Regions from separate parts of the Homo sapiens genome. Here region 1 is linked to region 2. The links are contacts of gene promoters, found by promoter capture Hi-C in human tissues and cell types (Jung and others, 2019). All regions are on one chromosome and are shown on one strand. The core of a region is centred on a gene start or on the middle of the fragment in contact, and the rest is flanking DNA. Distances in the headings are between cores, read along the strand shown. Region 1 holds the start of JAG2 (jagged canonical Notch ligand 2). Region 2 holds the start of TEX22 (testis expressed 22).

Evidence for each region. Contacts are between HindIII fragments. The study calls those that stand out against the background at their distance.
Region 1: a contact is called between the fragment with the promoter of JAG2 here and the fragment with the promoter of TEX22 in region 2, in 1 of the 25 tissues and cell types used here (H1 embryonic stem cells).

What each region holds. Positions count from the first base shown.
Region 1 is chr14:105,162,559-105,170,135 of GRCh38, reverse strand. It overlaps JAG2 (jagged canonical Notch ligand 2), which reads left to right and starts at 1,360. Exons shown (of 26, transcript NM_002226.5): 1 at 1,360-1,781; 2 at 2,029-2,379. The coding sequence starts at 1,716. RefSeq lists enhancers at 2,139-2,638, 6,177-6,924. The HindIII fragment of the contact is 20,950 bases long and covers 1-7,577 here.
Region 2 is chr14:105,392,998-105,399,816 of GRCh38, reverse strand. It overlaps TEX22 (testis expressed 22), which reads right to left and starts at 1,279. Exons shown (of 4, transcript NM_001195082.2): 1 at 1,182-1,279; 2 at 327-515. The coding sequence starts at 476. PACS2 (phosphofurin acidic cluster sorting protein 2) reads right to left here. Exons shown (of 25, transcript NM_001100913.3): 24 at 6,482-6,595; 25 at 1,670-5,263. The coding sequence ends at 5,145. RefSeq lists enhancers at 168-678, 679-1,189 and a silencer at 857-1,766. The HindIII fragment of the contact is 31,919 bases long and covers 1-6,819 here.

The DNA of each region.
Region 1 (7,577 bases), core at 111-2,610, 230 kb after region 2:
CCTACCCACCACCAAGTTTGGGGTGGGCACTCTGAGCAGAGCCAGCTGAGGTGGGCATGGGGGGCTCCCACCCACCCCTTTAGGGACCTTCAGCTGAGCCTGCGGCCTGGATCCTGGAGGAGCTGCTAAACAGGGATGGAGCAGGCAGACCCTGCGCATGGGGTGTTCACAGGCCCTGTGCCTCCAAAGCTCTCTTCCTTCAGCCCTCAGCCCCAGCAGCATGGTGGCAGTGACTTGCTCCAGGCTGGGGGGCTGCACAGCCACCCAGCTCCGGGCACAGGGCAAATTTGCGAGAGGAGCTAGGGGGAGAGAAGACAGCTCAGTTATCATGGGGATGGGTTGAGGACCCCTCTGGACCATATGGGGATCTTTAACCACCAAGGTGACCCCTAGCTCTGGAAAGGACCGTGCTCACTGGAGGAGAGGAAGGTGCCATTGGTTTTGACCCTGTGGAGGAGCTGCGAGGTCACCCAGGGAGAGGGCAAGGAGGTGACCGCAGAGGATGGGGTGTGGAAGCCTGGTGACCAGGGCAGCAGTGGGAGGCCTCTCTCGGGGTAGCCTTCAGGGACAGGCACTGCCGACTTTTGTTCCCCATTTCCCGCCTCTCGCCCCCCAAGCCCAGACCTGAGTTTGGGGGGCGAGAGGCGGGAAACGGGGAATGTGGCCTGAGCATTTCCTGAGGGCATGGCCTGGCTACCTCGACGCCAGCGCCGAGCTGAGCAGTCTGCACCCTGGAGCATTTGTTGACTGGCTGCTTGACCAGCGCGCCTCGCAGAGGGGAAGGCAGGGGCGTCGGAGGGGCGCAGCGCCCCCTGCAGCCGGCGTGGAGGCGGTAGGAGCGGCGCGGAGAAGGGGAGATTCTCGGAGGAGGTGGGGGGCGCGCAGTAGGGGCTGGGCCCGGCTCTGGCCCCAGGGCCGCGCCACCCCGCGTGGGGGCCGAGCCCTGATCAGAGTAGGAGGCGGCATCTCCTCTGGGACTGCGAGGAGCGCGGCGGTGGCGCACTGATGGGAGGGGACCACACGGCAACCTCGGGGCGCCCCACCCCCGGTTTCTGACACCCGGCAGGAGCCCAGGCGGAGGAGGGGAGGCAGCTTTGCGGCGCCGGCGCACGCCTCGCCGACTCACGCGGAGGTGTGAGCGGGGCCCCCGCGGCCCGCGCTGACCCCGAGGCCCCGTGCCCCCGCCGCCCGGGCGCCCTGGGGGGCGCGCGCCGGGCCGGGGCGCTGGCAGGCGACGCCCTCCACCGCCTTTAAAGCCTGGGGCGCCCCCGGACCCCCCCCCGGCCCCACCCCGCGGCGCGGCCCCGCCCCCTCATGCATATGCAGGTGCGCGGGTGACGAATGGGCGAGCGAGCTGTCAGTCTCGTTCCGAACTTGTTGGCTGCGGTGCCGGGAGCGCGGGCGCGCAGAGCCGAGGCCGGGACCCGCTGCCTTCACCGCCGCCGCCGTCGCCGCCGGGTGGGAGCCGGGCCGGGCAGCCGGAGCGCGGCCGCCAGCGAGCCGGAGCTGCCGCCGCCCCTGCACGCCCGCCGCCCAGGCCCGCGCGCCGCGGCGCTGCGCTCGACCCCGCCCGCGCCGCCGCCGCCGCCGCCTCTGCCGCTGCCGCTGCCTCTGCGGGCGCTCGGAGGGCGGGCGGGCGCTGGGAGGCCGGCGCGGCGGCTGGGAGCCGGGCGCGGGCGGCGGCGGCGGGGCCGGGCGGGCGGGTCGCGGGGGCAATGCGGGCGCAGGGCCGGGGGCGCCTTCCCCGGCGGCTGCTGCTGCTGCTGGCGCTCTGGGTGCAGGTGAGCGGGGCGGCGGGGGCGGCGGGGGTCGCGGACGGGGCACACCGGGCCGCCCCTAGGGGCCGGGCGGGCACTGCCTGGGGCCGCCGTGGTTCGGAAGCCCTCGAGGCTGCGCGCGGCGGCTGGGGCTCCGGGCGGGCGCGGCTGGGTGGGGGCGGGGCGGCGGGGCCTGTTCCCCCACCCCTGGCGCCCGGCCCGCCGACCCCGGCCCGCGCCTCCCTCCGCTCTCCCGCTGCCTTATTTTTAGGCGGCGCGGCCCATGGGCTATTTCGAGCTGCAGCTGAGCGCGCTGCGGAACGTGAACGGGGAGCTGCTGAGCGGCGCCTGCTGTGACGGCGACGGCCGGACAACGCGCGCGGGGGGCTGCGGCCACGACGAGTGCGACACGTACGTGCGCGTGTGCCTTAAGGAGTACCAGGCCAAGGTGACGCCCACGGGGCCCTGCAGCTACGGCCACGGCGCCACGCCCGTGCTGGGCGGCAACTCCTTCTACCTGCCGCCGGCGGGCGCTGCGGGGGACCGAGCGCGGGCGCGGGCCCGGGCCGGCGGCGACCAGGACCCGGGCCTCGTCGTCATCCCCTTCCAGTTCGCCTGGCCGGTACGTGCGCTCCATCCCTCGTGCTCCAGCCCTTCCCTCTCTCTCCGCGCCCCGGCCCCGCGCGCTTCGCGACCCCCAACACCTGCGGCCGGGTCTGCGTGCGAGCCGCGCGCGCCCAGGCGGGGCGGGGCCGGCAGGGGGCGCGTGCTCTGGGGACTTGGTCCGCGCCTGGCCACGTGGGCGCGCCGGGGCCCCGGGGCCACCGGGAGCGGGGTCGCGGCGGGGGCGGGGCGGCGGCGTCCCGCGTGCGCGGCGGTGTGCGGCGTGTGCCTGCGTCGCCCTGCGCGTGTCTGTCTGGGTGGGGAGGCGAGGCGAGGCGCCCCGGTCCCGGGCAGGCCGCGGTGGCATGTGCGCAGCGCGTGCTGGGGCTGGTCTAGGGCAGGCCCTGACTGAGCCGCCCCGGGCCCGTGGCCAGCCTGCGCCTGCCCTGCAGTTTCCTGGATGCCTGGGGGGCACGGGCGGGCGCCGTGGGACCTAGGCCCGGGAGAGCCTAACGCCTAACGCTTATGTCGGCAGAAGCCCCCGATGGTGACCCAAGATCGTTCAGAGACAGAGATAGTGGATCCTGGTGCAGTGACCTTCTGTGGCACTGCCCTGTTTGTGGGTTTTTTTGGTTTTGTTATTCTGGAGGGGCAGAAGCTGAGTCGGGGCTGTCTGGTCTCCCCTGGCAGGTGGCCAGTCAGGCAGGAGCCCTGGCCTGGGCGTGCTGGGAGGAGGGGTGGTAGGGGTCCAGTGTCACTGGGAAACAGGTACTCATCCCAGTGGGCTGGCAGGTGGGTAGTGGTAGGTGGGCAGGCCCAGGCCTCGGGCGCCTTACCTCATTGCCTGGAGCACGGCCTTGCCCTGGTGCCCAGAGGTCCTTCCCTGCTTGGTCATTGTGCTGGGGGCCTGGAACTGGGTGAGTGCGGGAATGAGAGCACCATGCAGACCTGTGATCAGGGAGTAGATGGATCTGGGAGCCAGGAAGTGGCTCCAGTCAGCAGGAGGCACCGGAGTGTGCCCACCTGGTATCCTGGGCCCTGAAGTGATTGTGAGTTGAGGGCAATCCCTGCCGAGCTCACGCCAGTTGGGCCTGCCGTGTGTGGCTCCCAGTCCTGTGCTGTACCTTTGCAGCCCTGGCTGGCAGCCTTGCCTGCTGCCCCCATCCTCACCGCTTCCTGAGCTCCCACCCGTGGAAGCTGGCCACAGTCTCCTCTGGCCATGTCCTCAACCCGTGAGCACCCCGCCGAGTATCCCTTGACCAGGGGGGCCCCAGAGAGGGGAAAGTGTCCCCCAGATGGAAAAGGCAGGGGCGGGCATGGGAGGGCCCAGGCAGTTGTGAGAAGCCCAGCCCCTCGCCCCCACGGCGGTGCAGCAGGCAGGTCTGAGCAGGGCCCGCAGCCTGTCATCTGCACCTGGGCCTGAGCCAGCGTGGCCCCACATCGCTACCTGAGGATGTGTTTTCTGCTCGAGTTGGCAGCAGTGGGTGTGGGGGCAGGGAGGTCTTGGAGGAATGTGGCGGGCTATCGCGTGTCCGCCCTGGCTCTTCGCCCCGCGGGCCAGCCGGTCAGGTGTGGGATGGGACCGGGTAGGCCCTTGCCTTCCTTGGAGTCCGGGCACTGGGTTTCGGGGCCAGCTCACCTCCCTGCCTCTTGCTTCCAGCCGGTTCCTCGAATGCCCCAGGAGGGGGCAGGCGGCCTGTCTCTGGGTTGGGGGCCAGGGCAGAGTCATAGCTGCGTGTTTGGGGGCAGCCCTGGTCTCCTGCCATGTGGCCTGGCTGCCGGGCGGGAGCTGTGCCGTGATGCCAGCACCCTGGTATTTGCACTCGGGCGGCGGCAGTCCCTGGCCATGCTGCCCTGGCTTGCTGAGGTCCAGCTCTGTGCGGTGAGCTGAGGTGTACTTGGCTGTGATGGGAAGGCAAGGACCGAGTTCAGGCTCCCTGGGACCTGAGGAGGGGTTTCAGCCTGGAGGCTAGGGTGGCATCCTGCCCAGGCCCGTGGGGCTTTTGGGCTCCTTGGAGTAAAGGGAATGAGAGGGCCTTGTGGAAGAGGAGTGGGGGAGTCTGGGCTCTGCATTCGCTCCCTCCACCCCCTGCCCCCTGAGTGACTCTCCCACCTTGTGGTCTCTGCTGTTGACCCAGGCCTGGCTGGGTGGCCCTCTGCCCCCTGGCCTGGCTTCTTGTGGCCGGGGTCTGTGTGCTATTAGTCATGGATCTGTGCTGGTCTCGGGCTCAGCTTCCCTCAGTGGGTGGGCCCAGGGTCTTGAATGTGGAGAGGTGGTGGACCACATGCCAGCAGGCTGCCTGGCTGCCCCTCCTCTCCTGGCTCCACCCCCAGACGTCCCCAGGAGGCCGGTGTCAGCCTGGGTTGGTTCTGGTGCCTGGCTTGTAGCTGGCAGGGTGAGGCCACATTCTCCCAGCTGCGTGTGTGCACGCACCCCGGGTGCTCTGTAGGCATGGCAGGTGGTGATGGAGGTTTGGGGAGGAGTAGTGTCATGCTGGGGGCAGCAGGGAGCTTTGCTCTGGGGCCTGGTAGGTGGCAGGCCCAGGGGACACCTGCTGGCTGAGGGAGGAGCAGGGTGGTGGCAGTTGGCCGTGACCTGGGCAGCCAGGGCCCCACCCTCAGAGGTGCAGCTGGAAGTCGTGCCTGCCTGGCTGGCCCATCTCTGGAGCCAGGAGCCCAGGAGCCTGCCTGCCAGCGAGGGTCTTTCTTGTTCTGTCTTGGCATGTGTGTGCTGGGCTCCAGGGCAGCTGTGCGGGGTGGTGTGGCTGGAGCATGGTCCCCGTGACAGATCTGGGCTTATGAGGAGAACGGGATGGGTGAAGGCCCTGTAGATACAGGAGGTGGGCCTGGGGCTGACCCTGCGTCTATCAGCTCAGGAGGCCTGAGGTCCTGGGCCATCAGAAGGGCTGAGCTTTTCTCACCTGTGAAAGGGGCACACTGCCGCTTTTTCATTGCAGGTCTCACGAAGTCAGATGGGGCTGCTGGACTCCCAGCTCGGGCTCTGCTTGTGCCCCCAGCCCGGCTCCCAGACCTGTCCAGTTCCTCCCCTTCCCAGCCTTCCCTACCCTCTCCTTTGCCCCCTAGGGAGGAAGGTTTTTACAGAGCCCACCCCCTGCATCCAGCCGCCCTAGGGCTCAAGGTGGGCCAGGCTGAGGTCTGTGCCTGGAGCTACCTAAGCTGCTCGTGGCAGGTGTGAGGTTCAGCACCACTCTGCTTCCTGTTTTTTCTGAGCTTGGGCTGGGGATGACAGGGCCCTGGCCTCCCCACCCTACCTTCAGGGGATCCTGTCTGCACACTGGGGACCACCCCCCTCCTTCCCACACCTTCCCAGTAGGGACCAGGAGAGCTGGCTGGTCTGGTATGGAATGTGGGCATCTGGGTTCCTGTGTTGGGTGGGCATCGGTCTGTTCCTCCTGCCATGGCCCTGGGGCCCAGAGCCCTGGGGAGAACTCAGGGCATGTCCGCCTTGTACATTGGGGGTCTGGTTCAAAGCTTTGGTATGGGGGCAGGGTGGGGCATTCAGTGCCCAGGCAACACGGGGACCATTGGAGCCAGGGAGGACTGCCCTTGGCCAGGGAGGATTGGAGAGTGGGCTGGGGGTTTGTCGCTGGTCCCTGAGGGTGGGCTGAAGGGTCAAAGCCGCAGCACGATAGGAAGGCTGGGAGGTGGAGGGGCGGGTTGGGGAGCAGGCGGCAGGCCTGGGTGGGAGGGGACTGCTGCTCTCAGGGGCCCTCCTGGGCTGCTCCATGGTGTCTTTATGAGGGGAGCAAGCTAGGCCAGTGAAGGGGTGCTTGTGGAGCCAGGCTTCGGCCTGAGCTGCTGCTGGTGGTGGAGTGGGGGCAGGAAGACAAGGATCTGCAATCCCAGGCCCCAGCCACAGTCGCTATCCCCAGACCCCAGGCCTGAGCGGGGTCCCTGTCCCCAGACCCTAGGCCTGATTGGAGTCCCTGTCCCTAGACCCCAGGCCTGAGTGGGGCCCCTATCCTCAGGCCCCAGGCCTGAGCTGGGTCCCTGTCCCCAGGTCCCAGGACTGAGCAGGGTCCCTGTCTGCAGACCTGAGGCCTAAGCAGGGTCCCTGTCCCCAGACCCCAGATCTGAGTGAGGTCACTGTCCCCAGACCACAGGCCTGAGCGGAGTCCCTGTCCTCAAGACCACAGGCCTGAGCGGAGGCCCTGTCCCCAGACCACAGGCCTGAGCGGAGTCCCTGTCCCCAGACCACAGGCCTGAGCGGGATTCCTATCCCCACATCCCAGGCCTGAGCAGGGTGTGGCTGGCATCAGTTGTACCCTGGGCTTTGTGGCAGGTGCTAGCCGGCCCTGGCTGCCACCGTCTTCACGGTGGGGGACCTGGGACCTAGAGGGGGTGTGCTGGGGAGTGGGGGTACACCCAGGCAAGGCCCTGGCTGGTCTCTGGTGTGGAGCATGGGTGTGTGTGTTCCTGCGTGGGATGGGCTTTGGTCTGCTCCTCCTGCTGCGGCCCTGGGGCCCAGAGCCCTGGGGATGGTGTTTGCCCCCACCCCTTCTTCCCTGCCTCGGGTGACAATGGTGGCAGAGGCCTGGGCCTCTCAGAAGCTCAGGTTTCAGGAAATGTATCTGTGCTTGGAGCTCCTGGCGCCTGCACCAAGCGCTGTGCTCCGTAGGGGGCGGGAGGCTGATGCGGGAGGCCGAGGAGAAGAAACCAAGTCGGGGCGTTGGTGGGGCAGCAGGTCTAGGAGGCTGTGTTGTGTTGGCCTGGACCGTGCAGGGCCCTGGACCTGGGGGGGCCGTTAGCGGGGCAGCAGGGAGGCTGTGTTGGCCTTGACCGTGCAGGGCCCTAGACTTGGGTTGCCTGAGTTTTGGGATGCTGTAGATTGGGGTACAGTGGGCAGTGGGGTGCCGTGGACTTAGGGTGCTTGGCATTTGGAGTACCCTGGGCCATGAGGTGTGCTGGGCCATGCAGTGCCCTGGGCTGGGGGTGCCCTGGACCTGGAGTGCCCTGAGCTTTGGGGTGCCCTGGACTGTGGGTACACTGGGCCATGGGGTGCACAAGGCTGTGGGGTGTACTGGATCTAGGGTGCCCTGGGCAGGAGGGTACTCTGTACTTTGGGTGCCTTGGACCTGAGGTGTCCTGGGCTTTAAGGTGCCCTGGACCTTGGGGTGTGCTGGGCCATGCAGTGCTTTGGGGCTCTGGGGTACCCTGGGCTTTGGGGTGCCCTGGAACTGGGGTGCCCTGGGTCTT
Region 2 (6,819 bases), core at 30-2,529:
CTTGCCACCTTCAGCCTGGGGTGGGAGGCACTGGGGAGAGCTAAGGGAAGTGTGTTGCCTTGCCTCCTTCCTGGCCTTGGAAGACCTCTCTACAGAGCCCAGCGGCCCACGGTTCTGGAAGCAAGAAGGGTGCAGGTCCACCTTGGTGCTCGTCCAGGGCCATGGGGAAGAGAGCCTCCTGAGTCCAGCCATCTGTTTCTCATCAGTCCCCACTCAGCCCTCCCCTGAGGCTGCTCATCACGACCAGCCTGGAGTTTTCAGAGACAGCGGCCTCAGGCGGGCTGGGGACAGGAGAGTAGCCTCGGCCAGGGTTTCCTTCCGCTTACCCAGTCCTGAGTCTGCAGTCCCTGCTGAACGCTGCTCTGGATACTGGGCTGGCCCCAGGCTGCTATCAGGCCCAGTGGGGGCCGCCTGTGCTCTTGGGAGAGGTGCGACTCCAGCTTCTTCCCCCGGGGGGACAGTTTCCTGCTGTCCATCTCTAGCCCTAGTAGGCTGCTTGTCCACACCTCTGAGATCTGGGGGTAGGAGCAGGGGGAGGTGGGGCGGGGCCCACAAGGCCACCCACGTGCCCACCAATACCTGAGTCCCTGGGGGCAGATGGTGGCAGTATCGCGGTCTGCTAGGGTCACCTTCCAGCCAAAGGTCAGGCATCACTGACCCCTCTGGGTGGAGTGGATCCCCCAGCTCCCGCCGCAGCTCTTCTCCACACCAGCCTCCCGAACTGTCCTCTCTGCCCCTGCCGACCCCACCCCGGGAGCCTGGAAAGCCTTCGGCAGCCTGCTGCACGGACTCCACGCCTCTGCCAGCCTTCTCAAACGTTCCAGGGGCATCAGCCCTCAGCCAGCACTGCGGGCACGCTCTCAGGGCCCGGCCTTGCTACGCCCGGGGCGAAGGAAAGGCCCAGAGCTCTTGCCACAGCCCCGCTTCCGACCCTGAGACCTCCCCTCCACGCGGCCCAGGCCTCGCCCCAGGCCCAGCCCGGAGCCCTTACGTGCCCGCCCTCTCCGGTGGGGAGGCGGGGTCTGCGCGGCCGGGGTCCGCGGAGGGACGGGGGAAGAAGGCTCAGGACACACGCTGGAGGCCGTGGGCACTCTGGGGTTCGGCGGGGGGGCGGGGTACACGGGAACGGCGGTCGGAGGTGGGGGGTACGTGGGCACCCGGAGACAGAAGGAGGGACAGACCCGCCGCGGATGGAGAGGCCACAGGGGGCCGCTGGAGTACACCGCGGCTTGAGGGGGCCCAAGGGGCCGGCGCCTCGCTCCAGAACGTCCGCTACGGCAAGCCCCGCCCCCACCGGTTCCGCTTCCGGTCTGCGCCGCGCCTGCGTTCTGGGCTCCGTTGCGGCGGGTGGGGGATGGGCGCGGTCTGGGGGTCCCCGGCGCATATCCGGGTCTATGGCCGCTACCGCCCCACGGGCCCTTCCGGGCGTCGGCCTCCGGGGTCTCCCGAAGCACAGACCTGAACTTGGGGTTTGTCGGCCAGAGCCCCTTTCGGCCCTGCGCCCTTCAAGCGGCGCGATGCCGCTGAGCCCCGGGCCACCTCCGCGCGCGCGGGGCCGCAGGGCTGGGGCGGGGCGACCCAGGACGGGGCGCGCGGGCGGGAGGGAGGCGCTGCTCCGCCGCGTGCTCCCAAGGGGTGGACGGCCGAGAGAATCACACTGCAGGCGGGGGCCGGCCCCTCCAGGTTTATTAGTGTTGCATCAGCACCTTGAAATAGTCCACACGGTCACATACGTGACATTAGAATCCGTTCCCCAAAAAGCTATTTACATTAATCCAGGGTTTCATTAAAAAAAACTAGCAACACATACATCCTAGAAACCAAACAATGCACAATGAACCGCATGGGGGTCTGCAGAAACTACAGTGGTGCTTCTTTGGCCCACAGGGTCAGATTCCAGAGGTGCCCAGCAAGCCCAGCTCTCAGTCCCCTACAGGCCACACACCCGCGGACGGCAGGACAGGTCTCGGGGAGGGGGCGGCCTGGCCCTCGGAAGAAGTGGCCTGGTCATTTTCATGAGGAATTCATTCCCGGAGGAAGGCGAGAGGCACTCAGGTCTTTCCATCTGGGAATGAGGACAGTGTGGCAAGGCTGCCAGTACCCTGCAGAGACACCCCCAGCTCTCACCCAGAGGCCCCTCTCCTGCCCCAGCTCTGGCCGAGGCACTGAACCAGGACACTGGCTTGCATGCCCAGAGACAGTGGCCAAGGGGACCAACATGGAAGAGGAAGGCAGCAGACCAGATTGCAGGGCGGGACTGGCCCACAGCTGGCCTGGGTGAGGGTGGGGTCTGTCTACGTAATAGTGGACAGTGGCCACCAGGCCTGAGGGGTGCCTCGGTGGTGACTGGTGGCTTAACCTTTGAGACTGATGGGGCTGAGCCCTAGCTCTACAAGGGGCTGCCTCCTGTCCTGTGAGGCCAGTCCAGGGCCAGGTTCTCGGGGGGTGTGCACACCTCACACACACATCCCCCGCCCTTACCGCACTGGCTGTCAGATGGCTTTGGTTTCTAGTTGTCCTTGGTGGGACAGAGTGCTCCTCCATGCACCCTCAGAACAGCTCTGTGAGGTAGGCAGGGAAAATGCGACCATCCTGTGTAACCAGTGGGAAAACCGAGGCACAGAGGGCTGGCATGGCCCAGGTCTTGTCTGCCCAACCTCCCTGGTGCTGGGCATGGTGTGGGGGATGGACCGTGGGGCTCCTGGGTGCAGGGCAGACCCACAGCCCAGCAGCAGCAGGGGCACAGGGAGTGCCACCAGAACCCCCAGCTGCTGGATGGAGACTCTGCCCATGTTCTCCCCTTGCGTGGCTAAGGATGGAGCTGTGCAGCCAGATGGGAGGTACGGGGTAGGCAGGAGGGCTCCAGGAAAGGGGCTGCCCACAGCCAGGATGCACTAGGCAGCCTGTGGCCCCTTCCTCTAAAACCTGCTCTGAGGCCAGAAAGCCACAGCAAGGATGTTTCCACCTTCATCTCCCTACTGAGTGTGACCCTTGGGAAAGAAACAGGAAGAGCAGGCAGGACGCGGTGACTCACGCCTGTAATCCCAGCACTTTGGGAGGCCGAGGCGGGTGGATCACTTGAGGTCAGGAGTTCAAGACCAGCCTGGCCAACATGGCAAAACCCCATCTCTACTAAAAATACAAAAAAAATAGCCAGGTGTGGTGGCACACGCCTGTAATCCCAGCTACTCGGGAGGCTGAGGCAGGAGAACTGCTTGAACCTGGGAGACGGAGGCTGCAGTGAGCTGAGATCATGCCACTGCACTCCAGCCTGGGCAACAGAGCAAGACTCCATCTCAAAAAAAAAAAAAAAAAAAAAGAAAAGAAACTGGAGAGCAGAAAAACAGATGCTCTGCAGCCCAGCTTGGGGGCAGCTGAACGAGTCAGTCAGGGTCCCACCTGTTGCCGGGGTCAGAGGCCATCAGCCCGGGGCTCACACCCTCACCGCAGACACTTCTCGGGGCAGAGCCTGAAGCCAGGATTCAATGGGAGACCTTCCTACCCTCTCCCCCACCCTGGGGTGTGCCCCAGGCTCCTGGTCCCAGGTGAAGGAGGAGTCCCTGGTGTGGAGGGGCTCTGGCTGGGAGGGGCTGGGGCTCTGCCTCCTGCACACAGGCTACCTCTGAGGCCTGAACCCAGGGAGCTGAGGCTGCACACCAGGCCACATCCTGGCCCCTCACCACAACAAAATCACCCTGTTCAGCCACCTGGGGGGGGCGGCCAGGAAGAGCAGGGCGGTCACAAGTAAGAAATGTGGGCCATCTCTCAGGCCAGCAAGGGTGGAGACCCCTCCAGCCCCGGCTCGAGGCCCACCCTGCCCTGCGTTTGCTTTCTGAGCATGGCCTTTTGCAGTGCTCCATCTTACGAAACCAGGCCAAGAGCCCCCAGGGTCGATCAGGACCCCTGGGAGGGCCCCAGCTTCCCCAGCTCCTCCTATGGAGACCCCACAGTGCAGGCTTACTGGGGAGAAGCAGGACTGAGGGGGCAGGTGTGGTCAGGGAAGCCCTCTCCTGCTGTGTGGAGGGCATGGAACCCACACACAACATGGGACCCAACACGCTCTGAGGACTGTGGCCTGGAGAGCCTCCCAGGCCCTGCACGGGGTACCTGGCTGCACCCACGGCTCCAAAGTGCCGGCCCCGCTGGTCAGGCCATCCCGCTGGAATCTTCATTGGCTACAGCGTTGCAGCAGGTGACACAAACACATCTGGACGCCTGCCCCATATTCACCAAAACCTGAATCTCAACCCAGATATCCCCATGGCTGACCTCAGACATACCCACTGGGGTGGAGGAAGTGGCCCCCACCTCAGGCCAACCCCAGCAGCATCTCACTATGTACCAAGCTGGGCTCTGGAACATTTTCTGGGGCCACCTGGGCTGTGGAGGCCCCTGTGCTTGCTAAGTTTGGGGCAGGGACTACACGCAGAAGCCTCATGGTGTTTCAAGAACAGCCTGAGAGTGGGGAAGGTGTGAGGCGGGGTGGGGCAGGGGCTGGGGAAGTGGGGGCAGGCTCTGCTGGCTCTGCCCAGCCCCAGGGGGACTTCAGAAGAGCAACATGTTTGGCAGCTACATTAGAACATGTATTGAAAAGCATTAAAAATATCTGCTGCTATAAAACCTCCGCCGCAGGCAGGAGTTTATTGGGAACCACGAGTGTGCGGTGCTGGGGGCATCTCTTAGGCGGGCAGGACGGCCCCCCCAGGCTCAACTCAGGACAACCCCAACGGGACTGAGCGGCCCCATGGCCCTCGGCCTGTGGCCACTGAGCTCCGCCTTCCCCGGGCTCCCTGAGGAAGCAGAGTCCTGACTTCCAGGAAGGACAGGACACAGAGGCAAGAACTCAGCCTGTGAGGCTCTGGGTGGCTCCTGAGGCCAGAGGACGCCTTCCGCGATCCATGGCTCAGCATCGTCCTTCTGGCTTCCCAGCCCCGGGCCGAACGTTCGGGTTAATAAGCAGAGCAGTTATTCGGCTCCTGGCAGGAGCTCCCCCGTTAGTTTCCACGTTGTGAGCACATTCATACTTAAGACTGTTTCTCTTTGTGTTTTAAGCGTCTGTCTCTGTAGTAAACTGAAATGTTAACAGAAATGCAGCTGGGCCCCTCACAGCATGGGGCAGGAGGTGGGCCCCCTGGTGGGTGGGGCTAGAAGGTGGCCTTGGAGTGTCCGAAGATGCAGATGGGGAAGTGCTTCACGTGCGAGGACCACTGCGCGGCCAGCTGGAAGAACTTGACGTCGCTGCACTCCACGCCGTCGATGAGGACTGTGGGAGAGGGCTGCCTGACCGCCTGCCCCCCTGCCCGGCCTGCCCACCCTATCCACCTGCCTGCCTGGCCCACCAGGCTGGGTGGCAGCCGGGCGTACAGGATGAGAAGGAGCCCCATGCTGGAGGGCATCAACACTTTCCTCAGGGACTCGGGGGCTCCAGGGCCATGCTGGCTCCTGAGGGACGCCATTCCTGCCCCTGCCCTCCACACTCAGAGCCCTGGGGGGTGGGGAGGGCAGCATTTCCCCCAGGGCTGCCTGCAGGTGGAAGGAGCAGACCCCACCACCTTCCGCCAGGCGCTGCTCGTCCACATCCACTTCCACCTGCACAGGTGTGGGAAGAAGACAGTGGGAGCCCCCTTAAAACAGAGACCCCTGTGGGGAGACAGGGCCACGTCGACCTGGAGGTCATCTGACCCGTGCTCAAAAAGAGGAAAGCCTCCCAGAGCTCCGTTTCTGAAACAGTTACTTGCAGAGTATCTTCTCCAAAACCCCTTTTTTTTTTTTTTTTTTTGAGGCGGAGTCTTGCTCTGTCACCCAGGCTGGAGTGCAGTGGCGCAATCTCGGCTCACTGCAAGCTCCGCCACCCGGGTTCACGCCATTCTCCTGCCTCAGCCTCTGCGCTCAGCCAACACTTTTAAACTACAAGCCATTATTTTTAGGCCAGGTGCGGTGGCTCGCGCCCATAATCCCAGCACTTTGGGAGGCCGAGGCAGGCAGATCACCTGAGGTCAGGAGTTTGAGACCAGCCTGGCCAACACGGTAAAACCCCATCTCTACTAAAAATACAAAAAATTAGCCGGGCGTGGTGGCACGCGCCTGTAATCCCAGCTACTTGGGAGGCTCAGGCAGGAGAATCGCTTGAACCTGAGAGATGGAAGTTGCAGTGAGCTGAGATCACACCATTGCACTCCAGCCTGGGTAACAAGAGCAAAACTCTGTCTCAAAAAAAAAAAAACCAAAACAAAAAACAAACAAGAAAAACGAAACAAGTCATTATTTTTAAAAAGCAAAAAGGGTTGAAAAAAAATTCTTTCTCAGCATTTGGAAGGTTGTCAGCCTCACTGAGGGCTTCATCGAATGTGCTTGCACCTTGAATCGTGGAATGTGCGTGTCACAGCGAGACACCCGCAGCTCCTAGGCTGGGCTCCAAAGCAGCCTTGCTGTGCTCTCACCTACGTCCCACTCTACAGACCCCGGGGCCGGTGGTGCTCACCCCGCAGCATGTTCTGCTGCTGCCTGGCAGTGCAGATGAGCCGGCTGATGCCCTCAATGCACTGGCTCTTAGACTCCACGTCCTTGTCCTTCGCTTTCTTGGGCAGAAACATCACTGGGAGGAGAAAAGAGGCCCTGCTGTCATCTTGCTGCTCCTTCGGGGCTGGGGCCAGGGCCAGGGGTACGTGTGGGGGAGGCACTGGGGGCTCAGCTGGTCATGGCACTGCTCACCTAGGAAACCTGCCTTCCACGGTGACTGAGGACAGCTGCTCTCCTGCCCACCCAGCTGGCCTCCGCCTGAGGCTCTGGTCAGAAGCACCTGACCCTCACTGCCCTCAG